Linked DNA regions of Homo sapiens: all the other regions are linked to region 1. The links are contacts of gene promoters, found by promoter capture Hi-C in blood cells and fetal thymus (Javierre and others, 2016). All regions are on one chromosome and are shown on one strand. The core of a region is centred on a gene start or on the middle of the fragment in contact, and the rest is flanking DNA. Distances in the headings are between cores, read along the strand shown.

Region 1 (3,967 bases), core at 411-2,910:
ATGCAAACAACTTCTAAGCATCTTCAGATGTAAAGAAAAACAGTCATTGTGCACAGGCGTTAGCTGAATGTTCGAGAGTTGGATGAATGGGGAAGACTTGTTATACACCTAGTGGTGGGTGGATTTCACTAGGCTGCAGCCTCCACACAGCTTTTCTTTGCTGCACTGCAGAGGCGCCATCTTCTCCGTCTTAATCTTCACTCAATTCGATCCTTTTATCTGCACCCTAAAAAAAAGACCCTTCGGACCCTCCCCAGCATCCTGTGCCCCCAGGGGAACTAAACCAGAGTCCCCAGAGCTGCCAGGGAAGAGGCCGCGCCTTAATCAGACAAACGCCTCCTTGGATGCACAGGACAGAGCCCGTGCCTCCCCACCATCCGCCACTGCCCTTTCCAGACGCACATCCCACTCTCCGCCTTATTTCCTCCCCGCCAAGGACTTTACAGCCCAGCACAGAATTAAGCCTCGGAGGTGATCCGAGGGTGGGAAGCAGAGGGGCCCCGAGGCTCCGCCAGAAGCCCCGGCAGCGTCTCTGCCCCCTCCCAGGCGGACGCGCAGCCCCGGGAAGGGAGCCGGGCGGGAGCCTCGGTGGCGCACTGAGACTAACGCGGCTCGGCCCACGGCGAGGGCGGGGTGTCGCGGCTTTTGTTCCCGCGGACCTTCTGCCTCTCAGACAGAGCTTAGGGTGCGAGCGAACTCCCGGGACGTCCAGACTTGGGGAAGGCGCGGGGTGGCTATGGGTCTCCGACCCCTCCCATTTCTCGCAAGTTACACAAAAGGGAGACGCGGACATGCACAAAGTTTGCCTGTGGAAGGCGGTGCGCGACCCCGACGCCGGCTCGGGCTAGGGTCGCACCCAGGCTGCCGCCGCCAGCAGCCGCGAAAAGAGGTTGGAGCAAGGAAGGGGGATGGGGGTGAGAGAGGAAGGTGAAACGAGGCGGAGAACGCAGGGAAAAGCGAGGGGCTCCTAGCTTCCTGGGCTGTCCCGACTCCTCCTCCTCCTCCCCAGGGCCCAAGAGAAAGGAAAGGGCAACGATTCAAGAGCGAAGGACTGGCTTTAGGGACGCTGCGTTTTCGGTTTTCCCCACGTGCTCCTTCCCCCTTCCCCCCTGTCTGAATGTCTCTCGCCTCCCCCGACCCCCGCTTCCAAGGCAGGGACTAAGTCGGGGTCTGGGCTCAGGGTCGCCCCCTACCCTTCTCGCCCCGGGCTGGCGCGGAACCAGGGAGACCAGCGCCTCGCCCGCTCCCTCTCAGCGGGCCGGAGCGCGACTCCCTGGGGCAGGGCTGGGCCGAAAGCGGGGATGCGCTGGACGTCCGCAAGCGGGGGCGGAGAGGAGAGGGGTCCCATTGACGGACCCCCGGCTTCTCTGCATTAAAGACTTGGGTTAAGGTCTTGGGGGGTATCGCGTCCCCACCGTGCAGCCTCCCCCCGCCTTCCGAGGCGCGGCACCCACCTCCAGCGCCCGAGCCGTCCAGGCGGCCAGCAGGAGCAGTGCCAAACCGGGCAGCATCGCGACCCTGCGCGGGGCACCGAGTGCGCTGCTGTGCGAGTGGGATCCGCCGCGTCCTTGCTCTGCCCGCGCCGCCACCGCCGCCGTCTCCCGGGGCCCCCGCGCACGCTCCTCCGCGTGCTCTCGCCTACCGCTGCCGAGGAAACTGACGGAGCCCGAGCGCGGCGGCGGGGCTCAGAGCCAGGCGAGTCAGCTGATCCGGCCCACCCCGCTCGGCACCCGAGAGAGACCCCTAGCGGCGCCGCCGGGGAACTGCGCCCGCTCGCGCCGGGAGGGGCCCTCGCGCCCCGCGCCCACAGGTGCACGCGCCCTTGGCGCCGCCTGCACCCCACGCGCCCCCTCCGCTCCCCGGCCGACGGCCCACCTGGGCTTCGTGAACAGTGGGAGGGAGAGTCTGGGGCCAGGAGAGGGACGGTGCAGGATCAGGGAAAGGTGAGTCCTAGGACGCTGAGGCTCTAGAAAAGTCGAGAGCGCTCCTGCTCGTCCCCGTGAGCTTGAATCATCCGACCCCGCAGGCCTCCCGGGGGTGTCGTATAAAGGACTGCTGCTAGGGTGCGTTTTTATCCGCATTTCGTTTTTTCTCTCGGTTTGGAGAGGTGGGGCAGGCGTTTCTGGAAGAGAATGAGAACGAGTGAAGCTTAAAGGAAATAGGATTTTCTTTGCTTGTTGAGACAGCAAAACCTCATTTTTTAACCCCCAACGTCAAAAGCAGGCACGAGCAACCTGGAATTTCTATCTTTAGAACGAACCAAAGGAGCAAGGCGCAGGACCTGGCAAAGAAGCGGCCAACCCATTTACTTCTTCTTGAAAGCAGGGTTCTGGGCTTGGGTTTTGTTTCTTTCTTATATTTTTGTTTGTTTTTGGTTTTGTTTTGTTAAAGGGGGTGGTCAGTGTGGATTTTGCGGGGCGGGGGGTCTTTTTTTGTTGTTAAGCAGGGATGTAACATCCATCTGAGTTGGGGAAGAAGGAAAAATTAGGAGAGATCATTCGTATTCGACCCCCGTAAATGAGGACTTCTGACCTCAAACGCTGCCCTTGTTCTTCATTGTGTCTGTCCTGAATTATAGAAATGAACCTTCTGCCATGCCACTTTCTCCTGGATTAAACACAAACCGTCCACTGTCCAGTTAGTGTCCAGATAGTTTAGAATGCTCTAGAACTGCCCAGATATATCCCCTGCTCTTGACCTGAAGTAGCATTTAGTTACCAAGCCACAGCCCACTCCACACAGGGCTTGGAGCGAAGGACTGAAGCCAGGGAGTGCTCTGGCCCTTCTGAGGGCTGCACTGCAGCCTGCCTTCTCTCCCTTGCTCATTGCGCTGACAAGGGTGCCTAGGCCCGGGAAGGATGGCTCAGCCAGCGGGGTACAGACTTCCTTCCTGGGAAGTCATTTCTGTACCAGCTCCCCTAAATGTTGTCTTGTGTGTCTTTTCCCGCACTAGGCATTCAGTCTTGACTCTTGGATTACTTTTGCCCCTGAATGTCCTTTGGATGTCCTCAACAAATAAGGACAAATATTTATTGTCATGCAGTATTTGTTTATACGCTTCATGTCATTTACTTCCTACAAAAGCCAAAGAGGCTGTTACTATTATTCCTATTTATACATCAGGAAAATGAAGCTAATGAACTCCCAAATCTAATAGCAAGTAAGTGACATGAAGCTGGGACAGCAGGGAAAAGCCTAAAGTGACAGGACAAACCCAGTTGTTCACTTTCTGCACCACATTTACCCACCGCAATTCCGTATTTGTTCCGGGTCTGCATGAGCAAATAAGGCAAAAAAGAAGGTATCTGAATGCAAAGAGAAACGTGGTCCAAAGCTACAAATCTTGCAGAGTCCACTGCAAAATGCAAACGTGAGACCCTTTGTTACATTATTAAGAATTTTAAGGCCGGGCCTGGTGGCTCATGCCTGTAATCCCAGCACTTTAGGAGGCCCAGGTGGGCAGATCACCTGAGGTCAGGAGTTCTAGACCAGCCTGGCCAACATGGTGAAACCCCCATCTCTACTAAAAATGCAAAAATTAGCCGAGCGTGGTTACTCCTGCCTGTAATCCCAGCTACTCCAGAGGCTGAGGCAGGAGAATCGCTTGAACCTGGGAGGCGGAGGTTGCAGTGAGCCAAGATTGTGCCATTGCACTCCAGCCTGGGCGACAGAGCGAGACTCCACCTCAAAAAAAAGAAAAAAAATTAAATTAAGAATTTTAAGATGGCAATGGCAGAGCGTTAAACCAAGCATGGGGCTCCTCCCACCGCAGGGCCTGTGAGACTCTCCAGGGTTGCATGCCCATGAAGCCAGCCCTGGGAAGGAGGAGGCAACTTTAAGAGTGAGGGACTTTTCTTTGGGAGGCTGAGGCGGGCGGATCACGAGGTCAGGAGATCAACACCATCCTGGCTAACACGGTGAAACCCCGTCTCTACTAAAAATACAAAAAATTAGCCGGGCGTCGTGG
Region 2 (3,967 bases), core at 1,032-3,531, 750 kb before region 1:
GAAAGCTTGCTCTTATTATCCAAAAAAGAGCATCCCGGAAAGATAGAAAATTTTTAGAAAATAAGCATTCTACTCTAGCCAGGCACTATAGAAAATAACTGTATGCTCCCAAACAAAGGCCAAGTTGGGCACCTTTGCTAACTCTAATGAGGCACCCCAAGCCTCCCACCAGAGTGATATCAAAGAAAGCCCAGATGGAAGCAGAGGTTTTTATGATGCCAGGCAATGAGAAGACCTCACCTTCATCCCTGAGGTGTTGGCAGGGAGGCTGGACTTCCAGCCTCACTCCTCAAGTCCCCACTAGCTTATCAACAGAGGAGGTCCAGAGGAAACTTAGAACAAGCTCAGTGGTAAAAAGGACATCCTTGTCTCATAGTGACAGTGGAGCCACTCCTGCCTCTCCATGCCAGGGTGATGTCACAGAGAACCAGGGAAAAGCCTGAAGTCTCCTGCCCATTCAGCAGTAATAAGAATTGCCTATCTTCAGGAGTCAACAGAGGCTGACTTGGGAACTGGGACTTCAATACTTGTAGCCCCACCTGGAAATAAGGAGACAGTGCCCCTTTCACCCACCAAAGCATTACCAGAAGAAGACTGTTATACCAGATCAATAAGATCCAGAGTCTGATAATACCCTAAATGTCCAGGTTTCTATCAAAAATCTCTTATACTAGGAACTGGGAAAATCTCAACATAAATGAGAAAAGATAATCAACAAACACCAACACCAAAATGACACAAAGGCCAGGAATATCTAACAATAATTTTAAAACAGCAATTATAAAAAAGCTTCAATAAACACTTATGAATGTGTTTGAGACAAACGAAAAACAGAAAGTCTCAGTGAAGAGATAGAAGATATAAAGAAGACCCAAATGGAAATTTTATAATTGAAAAATACTATACCTTAAAAAAATTAATGGATAGTCTCAACAGCAGAATGGAGAGGAAAAAAGGATCAGTGAAGTTGTAGAATAGGACTTTTCCAATTTGAACAACAAAGAGCAAATCGACTGGGAAAAAACTGAACAGAGCCTCAGGGACCTATGGGACAATCACCAAATATCTAATATCTGTGTCACTGATTAGTCTCAGAAAGGAGGGAGAAAGAGATTGGGTCTAGGAAAAGTATTCAGAGAGAGTCTGAAGATCTCAGCAATACTAGCTCCCTGCATTTCCCACCCCACACATCCTCAGAAGCTAGAGCCTGGATTGCTGAATTTTAGAAAAGCTCTATTAGCCTCGTGATGCAGCAGTCCAACAGCAGTCAGTGCCACACCATAAGCCCAACTCAAGAAAAGAGATTTTGGCCGGGCACGATGGCTCATGCCTGTAATCCCAGCACTTTGGGAGGCTGAGGCGGGCGGATCACTTGAGGTCAGGAGTTCGAGATCAGCCTGGCCAACATGGTGAAACCCCATCTCTACTAAAAATACAAAAATTAGCCAGATGTGGTGGCACATGCCTGTAGTTCCAGCTACTCAGGAGGCTGAGGCAGGAGAATCACTCGAACCCAGGAGGCGGAGCTTGCAGTGAGCCAAGATCGTGCCACTGCACTCCTGCCTGGGCGACAGAGTGAGACTCTGTCTCAAAAAAAAAGATTTTGATAAAGTGTGTATGAGTTTAAAACTCCTTTTCTGACCCTAAAAATTTCCCAGTTCACTTTCTTTTATTCTGGTCCCTGACCATGATGCAAACCTGAGAAATCCACCAGAGACATAAAGTGGAGCTGTCAGTAGGACTGCACCCCAAATCAGGCAGTCTAGGCTGTGTTTGACTGTGGAAGAGAGGGAGGCAGGTGGGGCCACTCTGACCCGCAGATTTTATGTCCCGAGAAGGAGCAAAGAACTCTGCCACCATCCTGCTTCCTCTAACAAAGCCCCTGACAGAGCAGTCATGAGTAATGCTTCGACCTGGAGACCACCTAAGAATTTTATCTTTAAACAGTTAAAGAAGAGCTGTGATTTTCAAAGTTTCTGCCAATCCTTATATTGTTAAATGTGCATTGCCAACCCGCAGTTTGTTTGAGAGAACATTTTATTGGGACTTTTTGTTACAAAAGGCAATGTCTAGGGCAGAGTCTGGAATGAGAAGGTTGACACAAAGGAAGCTAAATAGCTAAATTGTTCCATTTAACAAATGATCGGTAAGTTCCACATGCAGTAATAATGTGTGTTGTAAAAAGGTTTTGTCTGAAATGGGTGGGAGGTGAATTTAAGGACTTGAAGAAAAGGGGGAAAAGACTGTGGCACAAGAGAGCAGACCCACAAAAATAGTAGCAGGCCAGGAGCCAAAAAAAAAAAAAAAAGCATAAAAAATATCAGTCCCCTAAAGCAGAAATGGCTAATGAACTTAGGAAAGGTGATTCACTTATTCTATTTGAGGTCGTTTCCTTATTTGTGCTACATGACCAAACCTTCAGGTAAAGTAAATTCTCTGTTACAGCCCTGAGTTAATGATACAGAAGGTTTTGAAGGAAAGGTACTCCTTTCTGGCTTGGAATGAATTGGTATAGGCAGGAGACAGGTACCAGGAGGATAATAGCTCCAGAGCTAAAGAAAGTGATATAGGAAATGGATACTAGGAAGTTTGTCAAATGGGAGAATATATAAGCCAAGAGCATCTTGTACCCACTTCTTTTCACTCATTGACTCAGGGAAATACGAGAAAGGGTATTAGTCAACTGCATCACTTATTGAATTTGTGGAAGAAGGGCTCATTTATTGAATTTGTATTTGAAAGGACAGCGTAACCTCAGAAGGCTGAATGACTTGGAGCTACTTGGCTCACAAATTTCTTCTTCCTGAATATTTTTGAAATCTTGCAACTTACAGTACTTACCATTGAGCATCCCAAAGATTTCCAAGTAGATGTGGGGAACCTTGTCCCTTAGGGTATGGCATGAGTTTGTGCATGTGTTCTGCTCAGGGTTCCCTGTCAACAAATGAGACAAATACAAAAATTACATAAATCTTGCCTAGTAAATAGAGGGAAGATATTCTAAGACAATGACAATTAAAAAAAAAATAGTCCGTCAAGTTGTCCTTGGCTGGACCTAACCATCAATGAGAAAATGCATGCACAGGCTGGGAGGAAAATCATATTACGTGTTATGTGGAAACAAAACAGAAAAGTACTGGCCTTATTAGGTTACCACTTAAGAACCCTGCCGCTTAGGCTGGTGTCTTGGTTTGAGTCTTCCCCATAGCAGAGCCTAAGACAAGGACTTAGACTTGGGGGCAAGTGGTTTATTTGGAAGGAGATATCAGGAAGCTGAAATAAATGAGCAGAAGAGTGAGAAGAAGGAAAGGAAACATAAGGCTGTGTTATAAATGTGGGTTTTTTCTGCCGGGCCCTCTGAGAAGCAAACCAAACGCCCTGCAGTCATCCCCTTCCACCTCTCCCACTTCTGGCCAAAGACAAGAGGCTGAAAATTTTCTCCAACAGCTTCCCATTGTCCTTGGTTAATGATTGCCCAAGGACAAAAATCCCTGCCTCTTCCAGTGTCCTCTTTCCTGAGCCAAATCCCAGGAAAACAGGAGATAGCTGCCAGCAAGAGATGAGTCTCTGAACTCTGAGAGATTGTCCACTGACACAGTGGCTGAAATCAGTAAGGGGCCGAGAGGAAGAGATGCAAAGTACCAAAAGCATCTGCCACTGCTCAGCGTTGAAAGTGGCCATACAAGTTCACATGGTGTCCTTGTTTTCAGTTCCTATGTACTTGTAAGTGGCAGCCACAGAGTAGAATTCAGACTTCCTGTCTCCAGAGAAGTGAAGCTTTTCTTCTTCATCATGCCTCCTGCAAGAATTCAACCTTCAGCAAATCAACTCATCCACTTTTCAATTGCATCATGATGAGTAGGGTTGAAAGATAATATCTGTCACCACCCTCAAGAAGTGTGTAATTCACTGATAGAAACAGACATATAAAGAGATCGATTTTAATAGCATAGTGAGGATGAGAGAG
Region 3 (3,967 bases), core at 575-3,074, 600 kb before region 1:
AACTACTGGGAAGGTTACTTAGCTTGTAAGTAAGTTCCACAAAGCCATTTCAGTAAAAACTTCCTGGTTCTAAAATTGGGAAAAGCAGGATAATCCTCTAAGGCTGACATTCTTTCTCTTTTGTGCATTTACAACTAAACGGTCACTGATACACATTTCCACAGTGACCCTGCAATATCCACATTGGCTTTCTTCTAAGACACTTCAAAAATACATCACACCTTTATGTGTTAAATATCACTATTGGCATATATCTTTAAAAACATTTATTTTCTTAATTCTCAAAATACAGAAAAGAATGTTATGCTATTGTGTGCACAAACTGCTATTTTCAATAAGGAGCTCTTAATTTAGAAAGTTGCTATTTTTCAATAAAGAGCTCTCAATTAGAAAATATCAAGAAGTGATGTTAAGTTTTTATGGAAATAAATAAAGTATCATGACATGAAAAGTTTATAATTTTTCCCCCAGCAATGGCTTACTCAGGGAATTTTTCTTATATGTAAAGTTAATGATCTGAAAAGTGGTAATCTTATCATTCACCAAGATTTCAGGATATAAGTTATTCCTACAGAACAATCCATTTTTACCTTTAAAGATGAGTTTGTGTACTTCAGAAGATGTGACGCCAGTTGGCCACCATCTCAATCAGTAGTAAGTCACACCATCAATCCCTTGTTAATGATGGAACTCATGTGAAGTCAAGAGGAAACATAATACTCTTTACCTCATTCCCTGGTAGCAGAGAAGTTGACTCATCTTTAATGTCAGTTATTGAGATGTAACACAGAATCATATTCTACAGAAAATATGTGATAAACTTTACACAAATGAATACACTTTAGAAAGGCAGTCATTTGGATTTTCTTTTTGTCAGAGAACATTGCAAGTCTTCCTGAAGAATTTCTGAGAAATTAAACACTTTATATGACATTTTACAGCATGTAGAGAGGTTGAAACTCAGAGAACTAAAACTCAGATGATAGTCTAAATACTTAATTTGTTGCTGCTTTATGCTGGACATGAAAAGTGTGAGCTTAAATTATAAATAAAAAACTATTGAGCTATCAAACTATTTGGGGTACATCCTTATCTTTCCTCTAAATTACTCTTTATTCCCATTAAAATCCACCTATCCCGGGTCCTCTCTCCTCAGCCCTTCACCTCTGCTTTCAAAGATGACTAACTAACCTAATAAACACATCTAAGGTGATGTGTCAACTTCAACCCCAACCCTTTTTCCCCAGATAACTTGTCTGCATTTCAAGAACAACCTACCAGAGACCTTACCTGTCACCTTGGCTCTCCCACCCAATGGAGATGGCTCTAATGGTAAGGAATTCTATCTTAAGTAAAAGGGAAGGGAAACACGCTGACAGATGCAGTTTTTATAAAGGCAGGTCATTGGGGCACCAAGTTGGCAGCCGCTTTCAACTTTTGATTCTACCTCAAAAGGTAACCAAGAAATCGTTGTTATTCTAAAGATTATGACAAGTCCAAAGTTTCACAGAATCCTGATTTTTATACACTTGCATTAATCACTGCTTACTTCCATGATGTAAACCAAAACTGCAGCGGCAGAATATAGAGAATCAGAATAAATTCTGATAGAAAAGGCAGATACTGTTTCCACATATACAAGTATATGCTAATTGCTTTTAGCAAACTGATCCAAATAGGAATCAACATTATTCCATCTTAATGATTATGTTTTTGATTGGTACACATAAATGTTAAAGTGGGAAAATATGCAGAGAAAGTTACCTAAACTAAATCACTTTAATTTTCAACAACATAATTACATTCCATTTCACCTACTAAAATGGCTTTGGACCTAGAATTTGTATTGCTACATCAATATAAGATGACTTTCAGTAAAAATAGATGTACAGTTGATTTGTAACAACAAATTAATAGTTTTAAATTATTTGTATATTTCAAGGTAAATAAAATTAGAGCTATCCCACAATCGCTTTGGTTATGAAATTCGACCACTGTAACTTTTTTTAAAGAAAACTTTATGGTGTGCAGTTCCTTTGGTATGCAAATATTAAATGGTTGGTGCTGAGAATAAGCAGCAATATAGAAATATATATAATTGTAGAAGAATATAACCTATGATTTAGACATAAAATGAGATCCTTACAAGATAAAGAGTTATGGAGATGGATGATAATGATAGTTGTAGAACATTATGACTAAGTGTTTAATATAGCGGACCTGTACACTTAAAAATGGTGAAGATGTTAAACTTACATTATGTTTACATTACATATTTCACCACAATAAAAAATTTTTGAAGGAAAACCAGAACTTTAATGACAAACTTAGGACATATTATGCTCTGAATATATAGTTTTGATAACGTCTTTCCTGGCAAATCAACAAGGTAAGAATAAAAGGATATTCTGAAATCTTTTTTTTTCTTTGGAGACAGAGTCTTGCTCTGTTGCCCAGGCTGGAGTGCAGTGGCACAATCTCGGCTCACTACTACCTTCTGCCTCCCAGGTTCAAGTGATCCTCCTGCCTCAGCCTCCTGAGTAGCTGGGATTATAGGCGTGCGCCACCACGCCTAGCTAATTTTTTTGTATTTTTAGTAGAGACGGGGTTTTACCATGTTGGTCACGCTGGTCTCAAACTCCTGACCTCATGATCCGCCCACCTCGGCCTCCCAAAATGCTAGGATTACAGGCATGAGACACCACACCCAGCCAGATATTCTTAAATCTTATGCTCACACTCCACCCCCCCCAAAAAAATTGTCCTTCAGGAAAGCATAATTTAAGGAAAAATTTCCCAAAGTGCCACCTTCAGCTTCATTCTTAGCACCAGAGGAAGAATTGCCTGTCATATAATGAAAGATCCTTGGTGTTATCATTAATCTAGTATACATAGTGCTTCCTCTTGGTAGATTTTTACCTACTGTGAGAAGGAATGATTTTGATACTCAGACAGTGTGTAGTAATTTGTTAAGAACATTTAACTTGGAACCTATGCTACACAGTAAAACTTATACTGACAATGGATATTTCATGTGGTAGGCCTAAGAAGTATTGTGGAGTGAGGGGACTGGAAGTATATCTGCAGAACTACCTAGTCAAAGACCCCAGTCTAATTTCTAATATATAATTCATATAAATTACTCTTGCATTGCTATACATTAAACATTATGCTTGTCACATTCTTACTTGGTTAGCACTGTCACTACTGATTGTCAGGCCTATAATTGTGTATAATTCTTCCCCTGCCACTTTACCAGCTGGTGGCCACACCGATTCCAGAAAGAACTACTTTATTTCTTATTACCTCATGAAAGCACCCTCTGCCCAGTGCCTTGGCTAATAGACTGGCCTTTGTTGTCTATGACCACTAATTCCCACTCAGGCATATAGCAATTCTGTTGTTGGTTGCTTAGCCCAGTCAAAAACACTGGAAGTGGACATAGACTCCACACTGATGAATGAATGACCTTCTAGTCATTCTAATGTCCTTAAAAGTCTACTATTTTTAAATTGTAGAATATATATATATATATATATATTTTTTTTTTTTTCTGGGATATTTCTCCTTTCTTCTGTTCATTAATGTTTTTCATCTATCATTGTGTTTTAAATATGACCTAAGGTTCTATAGTATATTTAGACAAACTTCTCATTTCTCTGCAGTGTTCGGAATTCATCATGCCTGTATGACAAGGTTGTGTTTGAGAACAAAAGGGGACCTGTGTGACATGTTTTATTTCAATATACATTTAGAGTTTGAACAAATAAAAAAAGCTATTAGAATTTTTAATATATATAACACATTATCAAAAACACTGTCACTTTTCTGAGTGCTCTAATCAGGCAATTCGTATGTATATTTAAAAAGAGGGAAAAAGCTAATTAGTATACTAAATATATTTATTTTAATACCTGTGCTCATATGTTATCTTTAAAGAACAGGAATAAAATTTATGGGTAGAATA
Region 4 (3,967 bases), core at 623-3,122, 580 kb before region 1:
CAGAAAAAGAGAGAAATCTGAAAACTACATATCTAACAAAAAACTAGTATCTACAACATATAAAGAACTCTCAAAACTCAACTGTTAAAAAGTAAAACAATCTAATTAGAACACTAGCAAAAGACATAAACAGACATTGCACCAATGAAGATATACAGATGGCAAATAAGTACATGAAAAAATGATCAATACCATTGGTCAACAGAGAAATTCAAATTAAAACTACAATGAGAAATCACTACAAACATATCAGAATGACTAAAACAAAAAAAAAAGTAGTGACAGCATCAAATGCTAGTGAGGATGTGGAAAAACTGATCACTCACACATTGCCAGTGGGAATGTAAAATGGTACCGTCACTCTGGAACACTTTGGTTGTTTCTTAAAAAACTAAACATACACTTATCATATGACCCAGCAATTGCACTCCTGGGTATTTATCCCAGAGAAATATTCACAAAAACCTGCACACAATGTCACAGCAGCTTTATTTGTAATAGCCAAAGACTGAAAATAACTCAGATGTCCTTTGATGGATGAATGGTTAAACAAACCATGATACATCCAGACCAAGTAATACTACTTAGCAATAAGAATGAATGAACTACTGATATACTCAATGTACTCGGATGAAATCTCCAGAGAATTATACTGAGTGAAAAGTGCCAATCCCAAAAAATTACATACCGTTTGATCCCATTCATACAATATTCTTGAAGTGACAAAATTATAGAAAAGGAAAACAGATAAGTAGTTGGCAGGGGTAAGCAGGCAGGGTAATGGGGGCAACAGAGGGAAGTGGCTGTAAATGCGTGTGTCTATAAAAGGCCAACATGAGGGATCCCCGTAGTGAAGGAATTGTCCTGTATCTTCATTGTATCGCTGTCCATACCCTGGTGGTGATACTGTATTTTAGTACTGCAAGATGCTACCATTGAGGAAACCAAGTAAAGGTACATGGGATCTCTCTATGTCTTATAACCCAATTATCTCAAAATCAAAAATTTAAATAAAAAGATTAGCAAGGGGTGGGAGCAATGTGGAAAATGTCAGGCTTCGGGTCATGATGGATCATTAAAATTAGAGGGAAGAGCATGCCAAATTTAAGCTTAAAAGGCATTCCAGGAAGTCTTACCAATACGCACTCTAATACCCCCTCTGTCAATGTACCCTCACCTATGCTAACTTGAAATTTTTAAATGCTATGTCAATTTAATTTTTTCAACTAATGTTTCTTTTGTAATTGTATATTTACACCCTGGGCAACTTTGTTTTTAATCATAAACCTGAGTTTATAAAATATTAGTGTCACATAACTTAAGAAAAATTAAAAGTTTATATTCTTCAAACTGGTATAAAATCAAGTCCGGAATTATATCTATACCCAAATTGGAAGACCTAGAACTTTAAGCTTTACTTACTCTTAAGTGAACAGGTAAAGACACGCCCTGGAATCTTCGTATGAGACTTGGCTGGGTGGGTTGAAGATTGTGAACTGCTGATACTTCATACTGGAAACAAATACTTGTTCTTGGAATAAGAGGGCCCTCACTCACATCAATGAAGTCACCTATTCTGATTGATTTAAAAATAAATAAACAAAACTGCAACATCAAATAATTTGTAAGAGCTTGAAAAAGAAATCTCTTCCTTCTCTTTGCTGCTAACATCCCTAATCAAGAACATTATATATGGTTCAATTCAGTTTCTAATGACCCCTGACATAATGATCTCAAGTAAAGAGGCTAAAACTTTGAAAATTAAATCAAATGAACCATTTTCTTAATTAGCATTGATATAGGTTTTAAGGTCTTTAAGAGTCACGCAACACATCATGCTATCAAGCTGATCCAATTGCCTAAAACCGATCATCTACAACCTTACAATAACCCATGTAACGAAGCTGAGAATTCAGTGTGTAGGACAGATTGTGTTCAGAAACAAAGGGCAGTTTCTAGAGGAAAAAAGTGAAGTCCAATTCATAAAAACAGGAGGCTGAGAAAATGGATCCAGGTCATGAAGTCATTTCTGCAGAATGCATTGTCTTGGGACTTGCTCCCCATGGGAGAACGTCATCATAAGCAGTGGACCTTTCTCATCCATGCTTGAGAAAGCACATTCTGGCTTAACTTACATGTATCTTAAGTAATTACTAGTTAGTCAGTATTCATATGAATTACGATGTTCAATTCATCACAATGACTATCTTGCCCAGTTTCAAAACACCTAAAAATTACATTCTTAAACAGTGGTTTTCAACTCAAAATTAAATAAAAATAGCAAACAATAAAATGAGGATTATAGAAACCACAAGTGTTCCTGAAGATAATTTAAAGCTTCCATTTACCACCATAACAAAACAATGAACGAAGCAACCAAAAATAAGGTAATAAGAACAAAATAAGACACAAATTCATCTTTTTTGGTCATATGCTTCATTCAGATAACAATAAAGCTAAGCCTTACTCTAACATAGCAGCCAGTTTTTAGACTTTTACTTACCTGTGTAGCTTGACTATTCTCTCAGGGTTCTGAGATGCCTTCTCTTCTATGAAATCTACTTTGTACCTGAAAAGCAGCAAAGAAAAAAACATTTTTTTAACTCAAAATATGTAAAAAGGTGTTTAAAGATACCTCCCTTTCTCTTCCTCTTCAGCCATACTTTCTGAGAGTAGGTTACACTTGGAACCTCCCTTTAATCTGGCCACAGCCCCATGACTCTGCCAAACTGTTCTCAACAAAGTCACAGACCTGCTTGGTGTCAACCCAGTGGACATTTTTTGGTCCTCATTTTCTTAATACCAATGCTCACCTCCACTTCTCAATGTGTTCTTTCTTTCCATTTTTATTTCTTTGTTCTTTTTTTTTTTTTTTTTTTTGAGGCAGGGTCTTACTCTTATCACCCACCCTGGAATGCAGTGGCATAATTATAGCTCACTGCAGTCTCAAACTTCGGGCTCAAGCGACCCTCCTGCCTCAGCCACCCAAGTAGCTGGGACTACAGGTGTGAGCCACCATGCCGGGCTAACTTTTTTTGGTAAAGATAGGGTCTTGCCATGTTGCTCAGGCTGGTCTCAAACTCCTGGTGTCAAGCAATCCTCCTGCCTCAGTCTCCCAAAATGCTGGGATTATAGCGATGAACCACCACATCCAGCCTCAAAGTGCTCTTTCCATGGGTATCAGTGGCATTCCTTACTGCTTGTTATTTTACATCTCTGGCCACTCCTGTCTTTCTCTACCCTTTGAGAATTCTATCCTACACCCTCTTTTCACGCTAAGCATCCTCCCTAGGTCAGCCCCTTGAGCTACAACTTATGTAGTTGTATGTCCTATATCTCTGCTTCTAATCTACCTACCTCTTCTGACCACCAAACTGTATATCCAAGACCCATTTGGACATCCTCTAGGATGTTCCACAAGCACCTTACCCTGAAATTTGCAAACTGCACAAATTACCACCTCTTTCCCCGCCCAAACTTGTTCTTCCTCCTGAATTTCCTGTCTTAGTACGATACCACCAACCACCCAGGTGTCCATGTGAAAAACCTGGGAGATTTCCTTGATTCCTTTCTCCTACCATATCTCCTTTATTCAATTCATTATCAAGTTGTCAATTTGACTGCCCAGTATCTCTCAAATCTACCCAATTCTGTCAGTATAGCTAAAGGCACAGATGAAACTGCACAGCCCAGGTTCAAACCATGACTTTACCATTTACTATTGAGAGCTTTGTCTGTTTACCTCAGGGTGCTAAACAAGTAATATGTGTAGGTGCACCACAGGTGTATGCACAATTATGTGGCAAAGTTAGGGAACACTGGTTTATGCAAAAACACCCACTGACTGCTACAGTCCCCCAGGCACTAATAAGGGTGCCAATTCCCTTGAATACTTATCCCTCCTGACCCACCTCCAAGAGATGCTCCTGTCCCCTGAGAGTCAAAGCCACAAAAAGGTCCCACCCTT
Region 5 (3,967 bases), core at 1,072-3,571, 560 kb after region 1:
GCATGTTGTGGAGGTTTGGTGTACATATTATTTCATCATCCAGGTAATAAGCATAGTACCCAAGAGGCAGTTTTTCAATCCTCCCTCTCCACCATCTACCCTCAAGAAGGCCCCAGTATCTATTGTGAAACTCAGTTTTGTTGGGTACAAAATTCTAAGCTGATAGTTATTCTGTTCATGGAGACTAAAGATAAGACCCCAGTTCCTTTTTGCTTGTAAGGTTTCTCAGAGAAAGAATAGATTTTCCTTTACAGGTTACCTGATGCTTTTGTCTCACTGCTCTTAGAATTCTTTCCTTCATGTTGAATTTAGATAGTCTGAAGAATATATGCATTGGTGGTGTCCTTTTTGCCATGAACGTCCCAGGAGTTCTTTGAGCTTTTTGTATTTGGATGTCTAAATCTCTAGCAAGGTCAGGGAAGTTTCCCTCAATTATTCCTTCAAATAGGATTTCCAAACATTTTGCTTTTTATTCTCCTTCAGGAAACCAGTGATTCTTAGGTTTGGCTATGTTACATAATCCTATATTTCTTGGAGACATTTTTCACTTCTGATTCTTTTCTTCTTATTTTTGTCTGATTATGTTAATTGAAAAGTCTTTCCTTTGAGTTCTGAAATCTTTTCTTCTACTTGGTGTAGTCTATAGCTAAAATTTTCCACTGCATTTCATAGTTCCCTAAATGTATCTTTCATTTCCAGAAATTATAATTGGTTTTTCTTAAAATATCTCTTTAGAACATTTTTCATTCATATCCTGAATTGTATTTTTAAATTTATTTATGTTGGTTTTCACCATTCTCTTGTATTCCCTTGAATAACTTAATAATCAACCTTTTGAATTCTGTGTCGCAGATTTCAAAGATATCATCTTGGTTTGGCTCCACTGTTGGGAGTAAATGTGATATTTGGGGCTGATATAGAACCCGATTTTTTCATATTGCCAGAATCATTTTTCTTGTTCCTTCTCATTTACTTACTTTTTTTCTAATTATTTTTGAATTTACTTTTTATTTGACTGGGTTTTAAATTTTTGTTCCCCCTTGAGGATGAGACTTTAACATTTATAAGCTGTTGTCATCTACCTTTGGCTGTAGGTGTTTTCAGTGGTGAAGACTTTGTGTGAGTTTTCAGTTGTAGAAAATCTTTGTGTGATGAATTGCTCTGATGAGGATTTAGTAATGATATGCTGGATGTGTGAGCAGATTCACTGTCTCCTGTGGGGCTGAAGTGGCAGAGGTCTCAGGAAGCTTATCTCATTTCCCAGTGGTGTGCACTTTTATAAATGTTTTCCCCACTGTTTTACTCACTGGGTTGAACAGTTCAGGCTTTGGGCCATTAGGAGGTGCCCATGAGGAAAAACTGGCCAAGGATAAAGCAGATGGGTAAGTTCAATACCCCAGTGGTGACCAGAGGTCCCAGCTGGGGAATCTCTCAGTGAAATGCACTGAGGTCTTTTCAGAAGGAAGGGAGAAAGCCACCATACCTCCCCTTCAGGAAATTCATCCCAGTTACACTCTTGACCCCATGTTCCAGCTACTCAGATTAGACAAACACCTCTTTATCTGCTTCATGTAGACAGGGATGGTGACTCTACGTCTTGTGCAAGCCAAGCCTGAATCAAGGGCGCTCCTACTGTGGGGATGCATCCTGCAGTGTTCCAGAAAGGCTGTCTACGGATGCACCCATGCTAAGCTCCCATGGGAGACATTCAGCTATGTCTGGAGTGGCAGACGCGGGGGAGAAGAAATCAGTATTAGGGTTCTCTAAAGAAGCAGAACTAATAGGATATATGTATATAAGAAAGGGAGTTTATTAGGGAGAATTGACCCACATGATCACAAGGTAAAGTCCCATGATAGGTCATCTGCAAGTTGAGGAGCAAGGAAGCCAGTGGTGGATCAGTCCAAGTCCCAAAACCTCAAAAGTAGGGAAGCCGACAGTGTGGCCTTCAGTCTGTTGTTGAAGGCCTGAGGGCCCTGGCAAACCACTAGTGTAAGTCTAAGAGTCCAAAAGCAGAACTTGCAGTCTAATGTTTGAGGGAAGGAAGCATCCAGCACAGGAGAAAGATGAAGACCGGAAGACTCAGCAAGTCAGCTCCTTCCACCTTCTCCTGCCTGCTTTATTCTAGCTGCATTGGCGGCTGATTAGATGGAGCCCACCTAGATTGAGGGTGGGTCTGCCTCTCCCAGTCCACTAACTCAAAGGTTAATCTCTTATGGCAACACCCTCACAGACACACCCAGGAGCAATAATTTGCTTCCTTCAGTCCAATCATGTTGACACACAGTATTAACCATCACAAAGTCCCCTTCTCCAAGACTGTTCATGAGCACCAGGGCTGCCTAACCGTTGAGGTAGACCCCACAAACTTTCCACACTGAGTCCAGCACTGCTGCTGTGACTGCTGAAAGAAACTTTCCACAGTGAAAAGGTAGGGACCCAAGGCCTGAAGTGTGGTTTCTTTTGTCCCATGGAATGCTCCCTTAATGTGGTACATTCCCTCTTTTTCTAGGAGTAGCAGTCCCTGAGCACCAGCCTACTGTGACTCCTGCTGCTCCTCTGGGTCTAACCACCCAGTGGGGCTGCCATACTTTGATGCTGGGAATGTCTACAAGGGATCGAGTGATGTGACCTGTCCTTCAAGTCTCCCAGCACCAGATCTGATAGGGGTGAGAGAGGAGTCATGTAGATTCTGTGAGATTCCTTGGTTATAAATAGCCTTAGTGTTGTGGCCTTCACAAATGCCAGCTGTACTGGTCATGTAGACAGATTCAACACCTCCTGGTTAGCCAGTGTGACCACAGTCATGTTAGTCTCTATTCAAACTGGGGTTGCACAGAAGTTTTCTCCTTTGTGAGCATGATGTTAACGGAACCGGCTGATATTGTATTGGGTTGTGTCATTTAACCTCTAGCCAGGAGGTGGCGCCTGCGAAAGACCACAAGCTGTGATAGCAGCAGTGGAATTTTTGCTTTTGCTTGCCTTTTGTTACCCAAGGAGGTGCTCTGGTGTTTGAAGTGATGTGTGGGGCCACGGAACTTTCAAATGTCTCTATCCATTGTGTTACCCTACAAGGACAGGTGGAGAAGCAAAGCCCGGCGGGGGTGGGTCAGGCCGTCTGTGCTCTGGCTTCCCATGTGGAGTCACAAGCAGCTGCCCCAGTGGAAATCAGAGGTCAGTTCCCCGGCCCCTGGGGTAATGTTCCACAGAGCAGCACAGCTGCTTCTGTTGCACAGAAGAATCCACATGGGGAGTGAAGTGTAGCAGGTGGCGGTAAGCCCCACTCTGCTCCCACACACTTGGCAAGGCAGGTCTCACATCAGCAGTGTTCTGCTAGCAGCAGCTTGCTGGGTTCCAGGCAGCCTGCAGTCAGAACTTCAGATTGCCCCAGGCCATAAGCTTTCCTGACCAAGACAGAAACTGGGCTTTCAGGCCACATTCATGAAGCAGAGGCCCTCAGCTTCTGTGCCTGTGGCTACAGCACACTTCCCAGTTACCCCTCAGTTCTGGCCGATGGGGTTCATCTCCGCTGAAGATTATATCGCAAATCTCAGTTGGGAGCTTCTCTCAAAATGTGACTGCCACCTGAGTTAGCTGGCAGACTTCTGCGATCTTCCCTGTGAGATAGGGTGAGGAATGGCTTCCCTCTGTCCCTGCTGGGGCCTGGGAGAACATGCAAAGCTGTCCAAATGCTGCTCCTTCTCATATGTTCCCCACCACCCACTAAATCAGTTCCAATTCTAGATAGAGTTAAGGCCTCCCCCCGTGGCCTGGATTGCTGGGATCTTCCATGGCAGTGTTTGTCATGGTGGCATTCTCTCCCCCTTCACACTCTGGAGGCTCACAGTTTTCCACCTGGACCATGGTATAGGCTGCTGCCCAGCACTTCTTTCAAACGGTCTGTGATTTTATTCAGCTTTTCTAAGTTCCCGTGTTGCTTCTTGGAGAAAAGTTCACAGCGTGAATC
Region 6 (3,967 bases), core at 591-3,090, 530 kb after region 1:
CACATCTTATTGCAATGAATGGGGAATAAACATGAAGTCCACAGTGCACTCTTGTAAATGGTATGACTTGTAAATGTCAGTGAGGACTTATTTAATACTAAAAGGCTATAAGAATTTGCAAAGGGAGTTTTAAAATTCATCCAAGATAGCTGAAGGTTACATGAAGAAAGGGCAGCTATATATAGCATGCACACACTCAGGTAATGTAAAATATGAATGGATGAAAAAGAACCAAACCTAATTCTAATTGGAGGGTTCATTATATTTGATATTCTAGAAAGAGCATGTATTGAGACCTGGAAGTTTGGCATTATGAATATTTTATTGCATATCTTGCTTTATATTCACTTTATATTCATATAAAGCAGGCTTTTTTTTTTTTCCAATGTAAGCAGTGTATATGTATAGGTAGAGAGCAAAGAAAAATCTTACAGATTAATGCAGTTCAGAATACATCATTTAGGTGAATTGTATTCTCTTTCTGGAAGCTTCTTTTAAAATTTATAATCTGCAACATCTCATTGCACAAAATTTCCATCTCTTCATCCAAGCAAGTTAAATTTGTCTTGATTTATCTGCATATTGATCTGTAAACCTGATAATTGATAGGGAAGATTCTTGGAGATTTCTAAAGTCTGTCATTTTTATAGATGCAGACTTTCATGTAGCACAATCAGAACATTCTGACATAGAAAAAAAAAATAATCAATGTATGTGATATAGTTTGGCTCTGTGTCCCCACGGAAATATCACCTTGAATTGTAATAATCCCCACATGTGAAAGGCGGGATCAAGTGCAAATAATTGAATCATGGGGTTAGTTTCCCTCATGCTGCTCTTGTGATACTGAATGAATTTTCATAAGATCTGATGGTTTTATTAATATAAGGGGCTTCCCCCTTTTCTCAGTACATCTCTCTCCTGCTGCCATGTGAAGAAGGTTGTGTTTGCTTCCCCTTCTGCCATGAATGGAAGTTTCCAGAGGCCTCCCCAGCCATGCAGAACTGTGAGTCGATCAAACCTCTTTCCATTATAAATTACCCAGTCTCAAGTAAGTCCGTTTAGCAATGTGAGAATGGACTAATACAGTATGTTAACAGGAACCCTGGTGGCTTAACTCATTGTGGAAATGGACAGCATGGGTTACAAAACTCATATCTTAGAGAGGTTTGGCCATTATCAAAGCAAAATTCTCTTTCATGGGACTAGTTTTAGTTTCTCTCCATGGACTTATTTTGAGGTGAAAACAGTAGAGAAACTCCATGGAAAATTTAGGTCTTTTGTCTTGAATATGCTATAGAGTTAAAAATGCAATATTACCCTTTTCACAAGTTTAATTTAGCATTCCTCATAATGGTTTATATTTCAAACAAAAAAAATTATCATAGTGTTTTAGTCCATTTTCGTATTGCTGTGAAGAAATACTCAAGACTGGGTAATTTATAAAGAAAAGAAGTTTAATGGACTCACAGTTCCACATGGCTGGGGAGGCCTCACAGTCATGGTGGAAGGCAAGGGAGGAGCAAATGCTTACATGGCATCAGGCAAGAGAGCATGTGCAGAGAACCTGCCCTTTATAAAACCATCACATCTCAAGAGACTTATTCACTATCATGAGAACAGCATGGGAATATCTCGCCCCCATGATTCAATTACCTCCCACCTGGCCCCTCTCATGACACATGGGGATTATGGGAGCTACAATTCAAGATGAGATTTGGTTGGAGACAGAGCCAAACCATATAATTCCACCTCTAGCCCCTCCCAAATCTCATGTCCTCATATTTCAAAACCAATCATGCCTTCCAAACAGTTCCCCAAAGTCTTAACTTATTTTAGCATTAACTCAAAAGTCCATAGTCCAGTCTCATCTGAGACAAGGCAAATCCCTTCGACCTATGAGCCTGTAAAATCAAAAGCAAGTTGGTTACTCCCTAGATACAATGGGGGTACAGGCATTGGGTAAATACACCCTTTCCAAATGGGAGAAATTGGTCAAAACAAAGGGGTTACAGGCCCCATGCAAGTCCAAAAACAAATAGGATAGTCATTAAACCTTAAAGTTCCAGAATGATCTTCTTTGACTCCATGTCTCACATACAGGGTCATTCTGATACAAGAGGTAGGCTTCCATGGCCGTGGGCAGCTCTGTCCCTGTGGCTTTGCAGGGTACAGCTCCCCTCTTGGCTGCTTTCATGGGCTGGCATTGAGTGTCCGTGGCTTTTCCAGGCACACAGTGCAAGATGTCAGTGGATCTACCATTCTAGGGTCTGGGTAGTCCTCTTCTCACAGCTCCACTAGGCAGTACCCCAGTGGGGATTCTCTGTGGGGGCTCCAACCCCACATTTCCCTTCTGCACTTCCCTAGCAGAGGTTCTCCATAAGGGCCCTGCCCCTGCAGCAAACTTCTGCCTGGACATCCAGGCATTTTCATATATCCTCTGAAATCTAGGTGGAGATTCCCAAATCTCAATTCTTAACTTCTGTGCACCTGCAGGCTCAACATCACATGGAAGCTGCCAAGGTGTGGGGCTTGCACCCTCTGAAGGAATGGCCTGAACTGTACCTTGGCATATTTCAGCCATGGGTGGAGTGGCTAGGACACAGGGCAGTAAGTCCCTAGGCTGCACACAGCAGGGGGGCCCAGGGCCCAGCCCAGGAAACCATTTTTTTTCTCCTAGGGCTCTGGGCCTGTGATGGGAGGGGCTGCAGTGAAGGTGTCTGACATGCCCTTGAGACATTTTCCCCATTGTCTTGGTAATTAACATTTGGCTCCTCATAACTTATGCAAATTTCTGCAGCCAGCTTGAATTTCTCCTCAGAAAGTGGGTTTTTCTTTTTTATCACATCATCAGGCTGCAAATTTTCCAAACTTATCCTCTGCTTCCCTTTTAAATGTTAAGTTCCATTTCTAAATCATGTCTTTGTGAACACATAAAACTGAATCCTTTTTACCAGCACCCAAGTCACTCTTGAACTCTTTGCTGCTTGGACATTTCTTCTGCCAGATACTCTAAATAATCTCTCTCAAGTTTAAAGTCCCACAATCTCCAGGGAGGGGCAAAATACCACCAGTCTCTTTACTAAAGCATAGCAAGAACCAGTTTAGCTCCAGTCCCCAATAAGTTCCTTATCTTAATCTGAGACTACTTCCGCCTGGAATTTTGGGTCAAAGCCGTTCAACAAGTCTCTAGCAAGCTTCAAACTTTTCCGCATCTTCCTGTCTTCTTCTGAGCCCTCCAAACTGTTCCAACCTCTTCCTGTTACCCAGTTCCAAAGTCTTTTCCACATTTTGGGGTATCTTTACAGTAGTGCCCACTACCAGTACCAATTTACTATATTAGTCCATTTTCATACTGCTATGAAAAAATACCCGAGGATGAGCAATTTATACAGAAAAGGAGGTTTAATGGACTAACAGTTCCACATGGCTGGGCAGACCTCACAAGCATGGTAGAAGGCAAAGGAGGAGCAGAGGCTTACACGGCAGCATGCAAGAGAGTTTGTCCAGGGGAACTGCCATTTATAAAACCAGCAGATCTCATGAGACTTATTTACTATTATGAGAACAGCATGGAAAAAACCTGCCTCTGTGATTCAATTACCTCCCACTGGGTCCCCCCCACAACACATGGGGATTATGGGAGCTAAAATTCAAAATGAGATTTGGGTGGGGACACAGCCAAACCATATTACATAGTATTCAGGCTTGTTTTAGGAGTTAGAAAAAGAGGAAGAGGGAACTGATATGTATGTTGTCAGCTCAGCTCCCAAGAAGCACAATTCTGTAGAATATGCCAAAGACATCACAAGGTTAGCAGTTCAATTCTTCATACAAATGGATGCCATAATTTAGCGCCTTTTTTTTAACCAGCCAGTAAAAACTCTCACTTGCAACACAAAGACAATCTTCAAGGCATGCAGTTGCCTTCTATTTCTAATAATTTCTGAAACATGGTAGTGTATTC
Region 7 (3,967 bases), core at 375-2,874, 530 kb before region 1:
TGTAGAACCTTGCTTTTTCTAAATAAACCATAATTTTTCAATCTCCTAGCTCTGGATCCTGCTGTTTCCTCTATGTAGAATGCCTCTCCTTTATGTCCTTCCCTTCAGAATTTGACCCATTTTTCAAGGTTTAATAAAGAAAGCCCTGGCCCCACTCCCAACAAAAGGAACAGCCCCTTATCATGGACCTTGGACAAGCCATTTAGTGTCTCTCCGCCCAGTTTTCTCATCTGCAAAGTGGGAATGATAACATTTCCTCTTTTATGGAGTTGTTGGGGGATTAGATATTGCGTTATTCAGACTCCATCACTGAGAAAGCATGCAATAAAAATAGCTGTTATTATTTTCTGTCCTCCTGTAACATTTACCATGTGGTATCAGGCATCTTTCCTGATAAGACTCTGTCTCCCCTCAAGACTGTGAGCTTGTTAGCAAGAAAGCCTCTATCTTGTTCATGGTTGTCCTTCAGCATCCAGCACATTGTTGCCATTTGTCAAATGCCTTGGCTGGGTGGCAAATAAATAACTTAGTCAGTTACTCACATAGGATTGCATAGAATTTTTTTAAGTATGACATTTTTGTGTATATTTTTAGGGAGGAGTAAAAGACATATAGCTGTAGCAAGAATTAGAAAAAAGAAGATGCCAACAACTTTTCTTTTTAAGCATCAAATCCTTCTCATTACTGCCCAGAAAAACTGGCATAAGCTGTTGTTAAATCTGTGCCCCTTCTCCTCGGTTGACTGGAGTACGAGTTTTAACATTTTGCCATTTTGACTTTCCTTTCTGGGTCCCCTGGGTCCTCTCCTCCCACCCCCTCCCTGGGTACTAAGTTTTCATCACTGTCACCACGGCAACAGCAAGGATGCCTCATTCCTCACAGTTCTGCACAGCTAAACTCTGGTCGCCTTTGTCCACTGAGCTAGCTGAATTCTTTTTAAATACACCACTAAATCAACTATCTGCTGTACAGAACTTCATCCATTATTCAACCTTTAAAAAAAAACAAAAACAAAAACAAACAAAAAAACAAAAGAAAAAAACTGATGTATACTAATTTCTTCTCCTGGGAATGGCCTTTTTCCAGACCTGCCAATACTCTTGAATACACCATACATTTTTGGTCCCTAGGAACAAATATAAAAATTGCCAGTGTACGTGCGTCCAATGTAAGTGTGGTGCAATTTTAAAGCACGCAACAGAGCATTCATAATGGGTTTCCCTTTTAAAAGCACAGTAGACCAAAAATAAACCTGACAAAGGGCAGCTGTAGAGTTTTAACACGTGGAAAACTCCACAAGCAGCAGTTATGTAACTTGAAAGAAACATGATAAATATTTCACACCATTAGATGAACTTCCAACTCTGACACTGAAAAAAAAGCAAAGAACAAGAACGCGAGACAAATGCACCTCAAATCTCCAAGGAGCAAAAAGCTTAAACTGAGAAGGGACCAAGGCTGTACTAAAATCTGAGACCTGACTTCCAGCACGAGTCTTGATTGCTTTTTTTTTTCTCGAGTTCGAGGCGGAGCCCGCGAACCCCATCTCCTCAGAGCGCCACCCCCTCAGCTTCGCCCGTTGGGCAGAATTTTCCAAATATCTCCACCCCTAGGCTGAAAAGCCAGAAAGAAGTTTTGAGCCAACGAGGGGAAGAAAGGAGTTGGGGCAAAACAGGAGGCGTTTCCCTACCCGCATACATCCCCGTCCCCGAGACACCCAATCCCCCCACCCCCAGCCTGCCCGCGCCTCCCGCCCCCAGCTCCTCGCCCTGGGGACAGCTGGCAGCCCCGCGCGGACCAGACACAAAGCCGATCAATCCCGGAGGCGTGGGGGCGGAGGGACGACCCGCCGGGGCTTTCCCGGGCGCTGCTCTCCTCCTGCTGCCCCCTCGCTAGGACCCGGCGGACGCCTCGTCTGGTTTTCACGCCCTCTAGCCCCTACCCCCACACCCCCAAAACAGAACAGACCCCCATCCCTGGGCTGGAGGACCCGCCTCTTGGCAGCCAGCTGAGAAGGCGCCCCGGGGAGGGGGAAACTGACATCCCATCTAGAGCCGTCCCTCCTCTTCCTCCCCTCCCGACTCTCTGCTCCTTTCCCGCCCCAGAAGTTCAAGGGCCCCCGGCCTCCTGCGCTCCTGCCGCCGGGACCCTCGACCTCCTCAGAGCAGCCGGCTGCCGCCCCGGGAAGATGGCGAGGAGGAGCCGCCACCGCCTCCTCCTGCTGCTGCTGCGCTACCTGGTGGTCGCCCTGGGCTGTAAGTTGCTCGGGTTCCTCTACCCTTCCTGCCTGGACCAGCCTGCCCCCACCCTCCAGCCCCCCACGGGGCGCTGGCTGACAGTGTCTGGGCGGCTCTGGGCCGAGGTCGCCGCGGGGCGTCTGACCTTGCGCCCAGGCGAGCGGGAAACCCAGGGTGCCCGCGAGCGGACGCTGGGAGCAAGGGAGCGCGAGGTCGTGGGTTTCTTGTGAATTGCGTCTGATTTTGTCAGTTCTAGATACAGAAAATTAAGGGTTCCCACTAGCAGGTTCTCATCTGTTTGCAAAGTTGGGGTAAGTTTTCAGACAGAGGGACGTGATTCGAATGCAAAACTCACTACCCACTGGTAAGATGCTAAGACCCCAAGAAAGATGGCATCACTGGGAGGCGGGCGCCGGCCACACTTTGAGTCCCCGGGGAGGGGGCAGCGTCCGCGTGGTCTGGGCTCTGTAGCGTCCCAGCTGAGCCGGCGATATGCAGCGCACTTGTGGGGCGGAGGTGGAGGGAATTCGTGGCTGCTGAGCCAGAATTACTTTTATCCTCTCCACCTGCACATCTACATTCACTTAGAGAAGTCTGGTCTGGGGACTCTAGCCAGCTGCTCTGTCCTCAGGGGACATCCAACGGGACGATTGTTAGAAAGATTCAGAAGCCACATGATCCAGTAGCTGGGGAGACGTCCCAAAGCCAATTTCACCGGATGATTTTAAACAGGATTTTCACGGATTCTGGACTCATGAGATTTGAAATCCTGGGAACGTTGCCGTTATTTTGTTTTCTTCGCGTTAACTTTTTAGGAAAATGGAGGAAATTACAATAGACTAAGCAATGCAGTTCTACTTTTGCTTTTTCTTTTTTCTCTCACCTTTTTTGTTTTGCTTTTTTCCCTTCCTTCCTTCCTCCCTTCCTTTCTCTTTCTTCTTTCTTTCTCTCTCTCTTTCTTTCTGTCTCTCTTTCTTTCTTTTGTAAAATGAGTTATTGTTGCTATTCACGTTCTGGTAAAGTAACACTTATAATACTTAACCTGCGGGACGAGTGTCTAATACCACAATACAATGATATTTTCTCACGCCCTCGCTGCCCAAGTGATCATCGCACAGCTCAAGTGATGTGAGCCACGTCCCTTTGTGGAGGAGGAAGGTGCACATTGTCTCAGGCAAGGGACATGTACTGACCAATATTATATAAAGTCAAACCAGAAAGCCAAAGTTTCACAATGAAACCCTTGTGCAATTCTGAAATATCAATTGGTATCATATGGAACACACAGAAGAAAAAAAATGCACTCATGCTAAAAGGCAACAGAGAGGTAGGCTGGAGAAATCGTTAACAGAACAACTGAGAAAGTTATGTATTCTGCTGAAATTCTAAATTTCAAATAGAAAAGAGTGTGCCTTTTAGTGTAGAATTGTCACTAATTAAAAACAGAAAATCGTTCTGCTGTGCTATTCCTATTGAATCACCAACATAGAAACAATACACCCCAAGTCTGAAATTGTAGTGGAGAAACAACCAAGAGGCGAACAAAAGCATAAATGAATGGGGCTGAGTGACCTCTTCAAGCTTTAGGTAAATATAACACATTGTCTCTGCTAAACTTGATTCCTATAGGGGATGTATTTGGAAGTGTTGTGGGGACTTTTCTATATTGTTCCTGGGATACTAAAAGATCTGGCATTGCAAGAGTGTTTTCTTTGTATGTGGGTGTTTTT

What was found. Contacts are between HindIII fragments. The CHiCAGO score rates a contact against its expected background, and 5 or more counts as called.
Region 2: a contact is called between a fragment that was not itself captured here and the fragment with the promoter of APP in region 1, in 1 of 17 cell types (naive B cells). The highest score is 7.0, in naive B cells.
Region 3: a fragment that was not itself captured here is called in contact with the fragment with the promoter of APP in region 1 in 1 of 17 cell types (fetal thymus); the score reaches 5.8 in fetal thymus.
Region 4: a fragment that was not itself captured here is called in contact with the fragment with the promoter of APP in region 1 in 2 of 17 cell types (naive CD4 T cells and fetal thymus); the score reaches 9.2 in naive CD4 T cells.
Region 5: a contact is called between a fragment that was not itself captured here and the fragment with the promoter of APP in region 1, in 1 of 17 cell types (endothelial precursors). The highest score is 5.0, in endothelial precursors.
Region 6: a contact is called between a fragment that was not itself captured here and the fragment with the promoter of APP in region 1, in 2 of 17 cell types (megakaryocytes and endothelial precursors). The highest score is 7.9, in megakaryocytes.
Region 7: a contact is called between the fragment with the promoter of JAM2 here and the fragment with the promoter of APP in region 1, in 1 of 17 cell types (erythroblasts). The highest score is 5.2, in erythroblasts.

Annotation. Positions count from the first base shown.
Region 1 is chr21:26,169,110-26,173,076 of GRCh38, forward strand. APP (amyloid beta precursor protein) reads right to left here and starts at 1,661. Exons shown (of 18, transcript NM_000484.4): 1 at 1,455-1,661. The coding sequence starts at 1,511. It overlaps APP-DT (APP divergent transcript), which reads left to right and starts at 1,758. Exons shown (of 4, transcript NR_186396.1): 1 at 1,758-1,943. RefSeq lists enhancers at 164-373, 872-1,396 and silencers at 414-683, 1,184-2,013. The HindIII fragment of the contact is 2,642 bases long and covers 1-2,146 here.
Region 2 is chr21:25,417,867-25,421,833 of GRCh38, forward strand. LINC00158 (long intergenic non-protein coding RNA 158) reads right to left here. Exons shown (of 5, transcript NR_024027.2): 4 at 2,842-2,934. Among named protein-coding and RNA genes, the nearest start is that of LINC00158, 12 kb to the right of the region's middle. RefSeq lists an enhancer at 3,680-3,879. The HindIII fragment of the contact is 2,988 bases long and covers 788-3,775 here.
Region 3 is chr21:25,568,590-25,572,556 of GRCh38, forward strand. MIR155HG (MIR155 host gene) reads left to right here. Exons shown (of 3, transcript NR_001458.3): 2 at 1,248-1,332. Among named protein-coding and RNA genes, the nearest start is that of MIR155, 3.4 kb to the right of the region's middle. RefSeq lists a silencer at 626-675. The HindIII fragment of the contact is 6,296 bases long and covers 1-3,967 here.
Region 4 is chr21:25,591,390-25,595,356 of GRCh38, forward strand. MRPL39 (mitochondrial ribosomal protein L39) reads right to left here. Exons shown (of 10, transcript NM_017446.4): 7 at 2,504-2,569; 8 at 1,423-1,576. Among named protein-coding and RNA genes, the nearest start is that of LINC00515, 10 kb to the left of the region's middle. The HindIII fragment of the contact is 925 bases long and covers 1,411-2,335 here.
Region 5 is chr21:26,729,775-26,733,741 of GRCh38, forward strand. No RefSeq gene overlaps it. Among named protein-coding and RNA genes, the nearest start is that of ADAMTS1, 110 kb to the right of the region's middle. The HindIII fragment of the contact is 2,152 bases long and covers 1,246-3,397 here.
Region 6 is chr21:26,699,935-26,703,901 of GRCh38, forward strand. No RefSeq gene overlaps it. Among named protein-coding and RNA genes, the nearest start is that of CYYR1, 130 kb to the left of the region's middle. The HindIII fragment of the contact is 2,709 bases long and covers 487-3,195 here.
Region 7 is chr21:25,637,634-25,641,600 of GRCh38, forward strand. JAM2 (junctional adhesion molecule 2) reads left to right here and starts at 1,625. Exons shown (of 10, transcript NM_021219.4): 1 at 1,625-2,255. The coding sequence starts at 2,189. RefSeq lists enhancers at 1,258-1,397, 2,135-2,635, 2,538-2,607 and a silencer at 1,618-1,807. The HindIII fragment of the contact is 2,383 bases long and covers 1,434-3,816 here.